Linked DNA regions of Homo sapiens: region 1 is linked to region 2. The links are contacts of gene promoters, found by promoter capture Hi-C in human tissues and cell types (Jung and others, 2019). All regions are on one chromosome and are shown on one strand. The core of a region is centred on a gene start or on the middle of the fragment in contact, and the rest is flanking DNA. Distances in the headings are between cores, read along the strand shown.

Region 1 (3,888 bases), core at 100-2,599, 63 kb after region 2:
TTTCCTCTAACTCTCTCTTCCCTCCCTCCCTCCCTTCCTTCTCCCCTATTTCTTTCCCTCCCTCTTTTATTCCATCTTCCTCCATCTTCCTTCCTTCTTTCCTTCCTTCCTCTCCTCTTCGTTAGTTTTATTCTTTCACACACAACTTCTCTCCTCTCCCCCACATCACCAATGCAAATGTAAACCCTGCTTACAACAAAAAACATATATCCTTCGTTATTTTCCCATGCTCATATAGTCATATGCAAACACTTATAAATGGATACATGTATAGTATTTTTATTTTGTTTGCTGAATCATATTATTATACTGAAATGGCTGCAATTAATTGTTTTAAATATCTGTATTCCATATTTTTTGTTTGTTTAGTGCCATTATAAATAATGTCACAAAAACATGCCATGCATCTGTCCTTATGTTCTAGGGCTCTAATTTCTATGGGGTAGCTTTTGAAGGGAGCAGTTGTGTTGAAAGATATTGTTACTTTCATTAGAGATTGCTAACTTTTGTTCCAAAAATATTATAAAATCCATATTTTCCCTATCAGTGCAAGAAAATACCCTTTTTTATTTTTGCTAGCTATAGCTACTATCACTTTTAAAACGTTTTTGTCAGTTTCATGAATATAAGGTGATATTTGTTTTATATTTTGTATTTTTCTATTTATAGGTGAACTTCAGCACACTATTATATTTGGCCACGTTAATGTACTGTTTCTTTTTAAATTGCTGGTTTCTATCATTTGCCCAGTTTGCTATTGGTTTGTCTCTTATTTATTAATTGCTTAGAGCACTCTTTCTATTTTAAATATTAACTCTGTGCCCTCAAAATTATAAATATTTTTAAATGGTATTATTTTCCCAAATTCTTAAACAATTTTGAAATTGTCAAATATGTTTATTTTGGATTTCAATTTTTAAGATTCTCCCATCCAGAGAATGTAGAAAGTCATCTCCTTTATTAACTGGAAAGTAAATATAAAGAAAATCTAGCTTTAGTTTTATATTAAATCTTTAATTCATTTGTATTTATTTTTGTTTATGGTATTAGCTATATGTATAATTTTATGATCTTCCAGATGTAAAACTAGTTTTGGCAAACTCTTTTATTTAATAAACTGTCCTTTTCCCATATACATCCCAAATTACTTATTTCTCTCTCAATTAATTTGTAAGATTGCTGAGGTTGGGGACCATGCTTTAATCAGCCTTATATTTTTATAATGTCTTGCAATTCTGGAACATAATAACTCATAACACCTATTTGTTGAATGAATAAACAAATTATCCTAAAATTTAATGAAGCTACTAGTAACAATTATATTTTTAAGTAATTTTGTCCTGTGTTCAACTGGAATAAGGACATACAGAAAGGCATATGGAGCAAAGGAAAAATGTGACTGAGTTTGTCCTTGTGGGGCTCACTCAGAGCCCCCAGGGACAGAAAATATTATTTCTTGTGTTCTTGCTCATCTACGTTGTGACAATGGTAGGCAACATATTCATTGTTGTGACTGTGGTGGTCAGCCCAACTTTGGATGCCCCATGTACTTCTTCCTTGGCTACTTATCATTTATGGATGCTGTTCATTCTACTACAGTTACCCCAAATATGATTATAGACTTACTCTATGAGAAGAAAACCATTTCGTTCCAAGCTTGATTACCCAGATTTTTATAGGACACCTATTTGGGGGTGCTGAGATTTTACTCCTTGTTGTCATGGCCTATGATGGCTACGTGACCATCTGCAAACCCCTGCATTATTTGACCATCATGAACCAACGGGTGTGCATTCTACTGCTGCTGTTGGCCTGGGCTGGAGGTTTCTTGCATGCTGTAGTTCAACTTCTTTTTGTTTACAACCTTCCCTTCTGTGGCCCCAATGTCATTGACCATTTCATCTGTGACATGTACCCTTTATTAAAACTTGCCTGCACTGACACCTATGTTACTGGCCTCACTGTGGTTGCCAATGATGGGGCAATCTGTGTGGTCATCTTTATGCTCTTACTCTTCTCCTATGGGGTCATTCTGCACTCCCTGAAGAATCTTAGTCAGGAAGGGAGGCACAAAGCCTTATCCACCTGTGGCTCCCATATCACTGTGGTGATCCTCTTCTTTGTCCCTTGTATTTTCATGTATGTGAGACCTCCTTTGACCTTACCCATTGATAAATCCTTGACTGTGTTTTACACTGTTATCACACCTATGTTGAACCCTCTAATCTATACTTTAAGAAATGCAGAGATGAAAAATGCTATGAAGAAGCTCTGGACTAGAAAAAGAAAATGAGGTGGCAGACAAATGTATCATCTATTTTCAGTGAAGAGTTGCTCCCTCCAGGAAAGCCATTTGTGATTATTTAATGGCAGTGAAATTTTCCTCAGGTTTAATAACTAGTATGCAGTGAAAATCATTTATTACATGAATACTTGCAATAATCAAAATATATTTAGAAAATTTTAATAATTTATTGGAAAAATATATGTTCACTTTTTGTTTGTAGAATGGCTCTCGAGATGATAAATTTATGTTATTAATACTATAAATTTATTTAAGTTTATGAAAGTTTTTCTCATGTTTTTCTTTTAAATAAAGTTAATCCCTTTTTGGAATTAATAGTGCTCATTACAGATTTCAGAAGAATGAATTAAGAAATAAGACATAAAAATTTCATTTACTCCTCCCCACACAAATACAGACCACATTAATATTTGAAGTATATATTTTATTTTGTATTTGTAAGATACTATTTATATATAATTTTGTTCATATTGCTAGCATATTAAGGTTGAAGAGGAATAGTGCTTCCTTCAGTATTATACATAAGGAGACAGTATACTAAAAGAATCTGAATGAAAAAGGGAGACATGCAGAAAAATAACTAAATCTTACTTTTTTCTCCAATTGAGAAATCATATTAAGTCCTCAGGTGAAGCAGCTTGATTTGGTGCTATATTTATGTAAAAATGATCCATTGATCTTCCCAGATGTTTAGAATATCTGATAATATCTCTGCTATTTTCAATACCCCCTTCTCATGGCCTTCTAAAAAACAGCCAGGCTCTGCTTTTCATATGTAAAATTAGCGTAATCCATAATCTATGAACTTCAAATATGGAATGCAGAGCCAGATAGTAAATATTTTGGAATACACCATTTTCAAGGAAGATAGACAGTTGTGGTGGTGCATGTCAGTGGTTCCAGCTGCTCAGGAGGCTGAGGTTGGACGATTTTTTGAGCCCAGGAGGTCAAGACTGCAGTGAACCATGATCACGCTACTGCACTCTAACGTGGGTGACAGAGCAACGCTGAGAAAAAAAAAAGAAAGAAAAAGAAAAAAAGATGCTGGCAATATATGATGCTTCCATTCTTACTTTATTGATAGAATGCAGATTATTAGGTAAAAAAAGGACTAAAACATATTGTTTCGTTGGAAAGACACTTAATTCATAAAAATCTGTGTGAAAATTCCTTTTGAATCAGGCTTGAAATAAAATTTTATCTGCCCCTGACTACAGGTAGAAAACATGTAATCAAAGAAACTCATTGTTCCTGCTTCTCCTCTGTACTCTGGATTCATGAGGGACTAAGGCTAGGGAAAAACATGTCAATTTCCCTGGTAAATCACACTATGTGAGTTCACTTTGTATTATTATTTTTATCCTTATTATTATTACATGGAGATTTCTTACATAATCCAAGCTCTTCCAAAACATAGCACCATTCTCCAAATAGTATTGAGCATTTGGTAGTATCAGAGTTTATATAACTAGGTCCTGCATTTTTGGACATGTAATTAATTTTCTAATTTGTATGGTTCTATTAAGTGATGAAATAAAAAAATCTTGGTTAATTGTCTGTTTATGTTTATTGGTCTGAAAGTT
Region 2 (4,058 bases), core at 970-3,469:
CTTAATAATTCTATTAAATCATTCGAGGTTTATCACGTACCAGACATTGTGCTACCTTGTGGCAATTATTGTTATCTAGTAGGCAAGTACTTTATGGGCCATGATTGTATATTTAACTAATAGAAATTTCAGCCTGAAATTCAAATGCTCTTTCAATGAAGCCATCACCCTTTCTGATGGGTTTTCAGCATAATATGGGTGACTTGAGCAATACAAAATCGTTCAGAAGCCTACACTGACATTTGGAAACATGATATAAACTTCATTACCTACCCATGAGAGGTTATGGCCTATTGTTATTACAGTCTTAAAGTGGTTAGATACCATAATGTTTCAGAAAACAAATGACCATCAATAATGATAAATAAAAAAGCAGAGTTGTTAATAAAATTTCTTATATTTTTAGTTAGATAACAAACTAATATATGCATTGTGCCTAGCATAGTCTGTGGTCCCAAAATGGTAAGTAGTATAATTAACTGACATTTTCATTATCACTCTGTGGCAGAATATCATAGCAGTTAAGAGTATGGTCTGGAAAATCAGTTATAGTTTGGTTACTAGCTCATCAACATATCTATTTTGATATCTTCTCCTTCCTGTAAGCTTCCTAACTTGTAAAATGAAGATAATAGTAGTGCTTACCTCTTTGAAGTGTTACAGATATTACCGCTAGATACCAATATATGCTATTATTTCTTTTATTTGTGAGAGGAAAGCCTATGAATCCATATACAGGATGAAACTAGTAAAACTAAGCCCCAACTTGGTAGAATTTCCCAAATATGCAGAGTTGTCCTCGGTTGTTTTCTCTCTTTCCTTGAACCATTTCTATACCCCTCAATGCAGAATCTATGAATCATATGGTGAATGTTTTCTTCATCCAATCAATTTGCCCCACTGCAATTATCCAAAATGTCCTTCTGACTTTTTCTTTTTTTTTTATTATACTTTAAGTTTTAGGGTACATATGCACAACACGCAGGTTAGTTACATATGTATACATGTGCCATGTTGGTGTGCTGCACCCATTAACTTGTCATTTAACATTAGGTATATCTCCTAATGCTATCCCTCCCCCCTCCCCCACCCCACAACAGGCCCCAGTGTGTGATGTTCCCCTTCCTGTGTCCATGTGTTCTCATTGTTCTATTCCAAACTATGAGTGAGAACATGCGGTGTTTGGTTTTTTGTTCTTGTGATAGTTAGCTGAGAATGATGATTTCCAGCTTCATCCATGTCCCTAAAAGGACATGACTAAATTGAATCAATGTTGAGCTCTAGTTACATTTATTTGTCACCTGAAATGTCCTTTCTACTACACAATTTCCTGATGGCATTTTTCATCTGGGCATTCTTCAAGGTATAGATTAAGGGGTTTAACATAGGAGTTATCATAGTGTAGAATATAGCAACTGCTTTATCAATAGGTAAAGTAGCTGCAGGTCTCATGTACACAAATATGCAGGGCACAAAGAATAAGATGACAACCGTGATGTGGGAGACACAGGTGGAGAGGGCTTTGTGCCTTGCCTCCAAGCTATGAGTCCTTAGGGAGCACAAGATGACCACATAGGAGACCAGCAGGAGGGCAAAGTTTAACAAGCAGATGAATCCACTGTTGGCAGCAATGAAGAGTTCCAGCATATGGGTGTCAGTGCAGGCGAGGTTGAGCAAAGGGTTCAGATCACACATAAAGTGATCTATGACATTAGGACCACAGAAAGGTAATTGGAAGATGAAGAGGATCTGTATGGTTGCATGAAGAAAGCCTCCCATCCACACCACTCCCATTAGCAGGGCACACACACACTGGTTCATGATAGTCATATAGTGCAAGGGCTTGCAGATGGCCACATAGTGGTCATAGGCCATCACAGTAAGTAGGATGCCCTCTGCACCTCCGAAGAAATGTTCTCCAAAGACTTGAGTCATGCATCCATTGAATAGGATGGCCTTCTTTCCATAGAGTGAATGTGTGATCAGGTTAGGGGTATTGACAGAGGAATAGCAGGCATCAATAAAGGAGAGATAGGCCAGGGAAAGGTACATGGGGGACCCCAGTGATGGGCTGGCAGTGATGGTGACCACAATGAGCACATATCCCACCACAGTGATGATATAGATGACAAAAAACACAACAAATATGATTTTCTGCATCTTTGGATTCTCTGTAAGCCCCAGCAAAACAAACTCTGTCATGTTATTCCTATTCTCCATGTATTTCTCATGATGATTAATTGCATTACCTGTAAAAATTTTTTATTAATACAACTTTGAATTTATTACATATCTCCATTTTAATAATAAATGCTTGAATTTTATTAAACTGTAAATTCCTATAAGGTTTTTCTTGAGATGTTAATAAAGTTTCTCAGTTCTTGAAGATTACTTGGTGAAGACTCTGTGAAGAGTATCGACATTAGAAACTCTTGTGAACAAAGTCAGGATGTCATGTGTGTATACTCAATCATCTGGGAGGCCTAAGAGCTCAATTTGAAGTAGTAGATTGGATACACGGTAGCAGCTAAACCTGAAAAGGGAGATTGACAATGAATTTAAAGGCCATGGTGTAAAGCTAAGGAATTTGCCATTTATTCTTTAGGAAATGGGGAACATTGGTAGGTTACTGTCAATATGAGTGGGAAGATGAAGAGGAATTTGAGGAGTAGGAATCTTGGAGTATCCCACTAGTACAAGTCTTTGTATGTCTTGGATGAAGTGGGCTGAGGTTCTGCAAAGCAGGTGTTAGCCAGAGAAAGGAACCCCAGTGGGCAGAATATTTAGAGTACTTGACATAAGAAGTAACTGGGTGGCTGGGCCGGTGGCTCACACCTGTAATCCCAGCACTTTAGGAGGCCTAGGCGGGTGGATTACGAGGTCAGGAAATCGAGACCATCCTGGCCAACATGGTGAAACCCCATCTCTACTAAAATACAAAAAGTTAACCAGGCGTGATGGTGCTTGCCTGTATTCCCAGCTATTTGGGAGGCTCAGGCAGGGGAATTACTTGAACTCAGGAGGCAGAAATTACAGTGAGGCCAAGATCACACCACTGCACTCCAGCCTGGGTGACAGAGAGTGACAGAGAGAGACAGAAAGAAGTATAAAAAAAGGATATAAGAGCTACTAAAATAATTCATAATGCTTATTGTCTAAATCTAATTAACTTTATAATAACTAATATTATATGCCCTTTAATAATTAATTGTCTTGCAAAAGCCATAGTAGTAAGTGCTTTGCACACATGATTCCAGTGAACACTTATAACATCCTAGGTGACCAGTATTATTTCATCAAATTTTCAGATAAGGCAGCAATATTAGTGATTAATGTTAATAGTTATGTTAACACAATGATATTTATATTATACAATAATGTAATATTATTTATATTAACATTATAACACTCATAATATTGATAATATTAACTAAAACATACTGAGCACTAGTGTCTTCTAAATGTTTTTTTGCAGGCAATCACAAAATAAACCCAGAAAATAGTACTATCATTTTTATACTTATTTTACATATTAGGAAGTAGAAGCATAGGGAAGTTGAAGATCCCATCCAAGATCAAGCAGTTTAATAAAGGACAGAGTCAAGATTAGTCACATTATACTAGTTAATTTTTTCTCTCCAAATTCTGAGCTCATGCCCTATGTTGTTATGTTATAATAAACAATGTTGAACTAATAATCTCCTTTTGATATGACCATTATGATTATACTTACTTTAATACTACTTCAGAGGCAATTTGTATGGAGCAATTTCATTAGCCGTATCCCCCCTCCCCACCCACAACACAGTGACATCTTTGAGTTCAAATATTAAGAAAAATGTGGTATTGAATCATTGAAGGTACATCTATCTTAGCTTCTCCCCTAGTCCCAGCTCTTTCCTCAACACCCCCACCCCACCAAGTCGTGGGCCCCCAGACTCTTGAACAAAATGTTGAAAATGACTACTGGCCGGGCGTGGTGGCTCACGCCTATAAGTCCAGCACTTTGGGAGGCCGAGGCGGGAGGATAACGAGGTCAGGAGATCGAGACAACCCTG

The links. The method cuts DNA at HindIII sites, captures the fragments that hold promoters and counts their contacts. A contact is called where the count stands out against the background at its distance.
Region 1: a fragment that was not itself captured here is called in contact with the fragment with the promoter of OR4C46 in region 2 in 1 of the 25 tissues and cell types used here (thymus).

Annotation. Positions count from the first base shown.
Region 1 is chr11:54,665,922-54,669,809 of GRCh38, forward strand. It overlaps the pseudogene OR4A2P. Among named protein-coding and RNA genes, the nearest start is that of OR4A5, 39 kb to the right of the region's middle. The HindIII fragment of the contact is 3,797 bases long and covers 1-3,248 here.
Region 2 is chr11:54,601,779-54,605,836 of GRCh38, forward strand. OR4C46 (olfactory receptor family 4 subfamily C member 46) reads right to left here and starts at 2,220. Exons shown (of 1, transcript NM_001004703.1): 1 at 1,291-2,220. The coding sequence starts at 2,220. The coding sequence ends at 1,291. The HindIII fragment of the contact is 14,998 bases long and covers 1-4,058 here.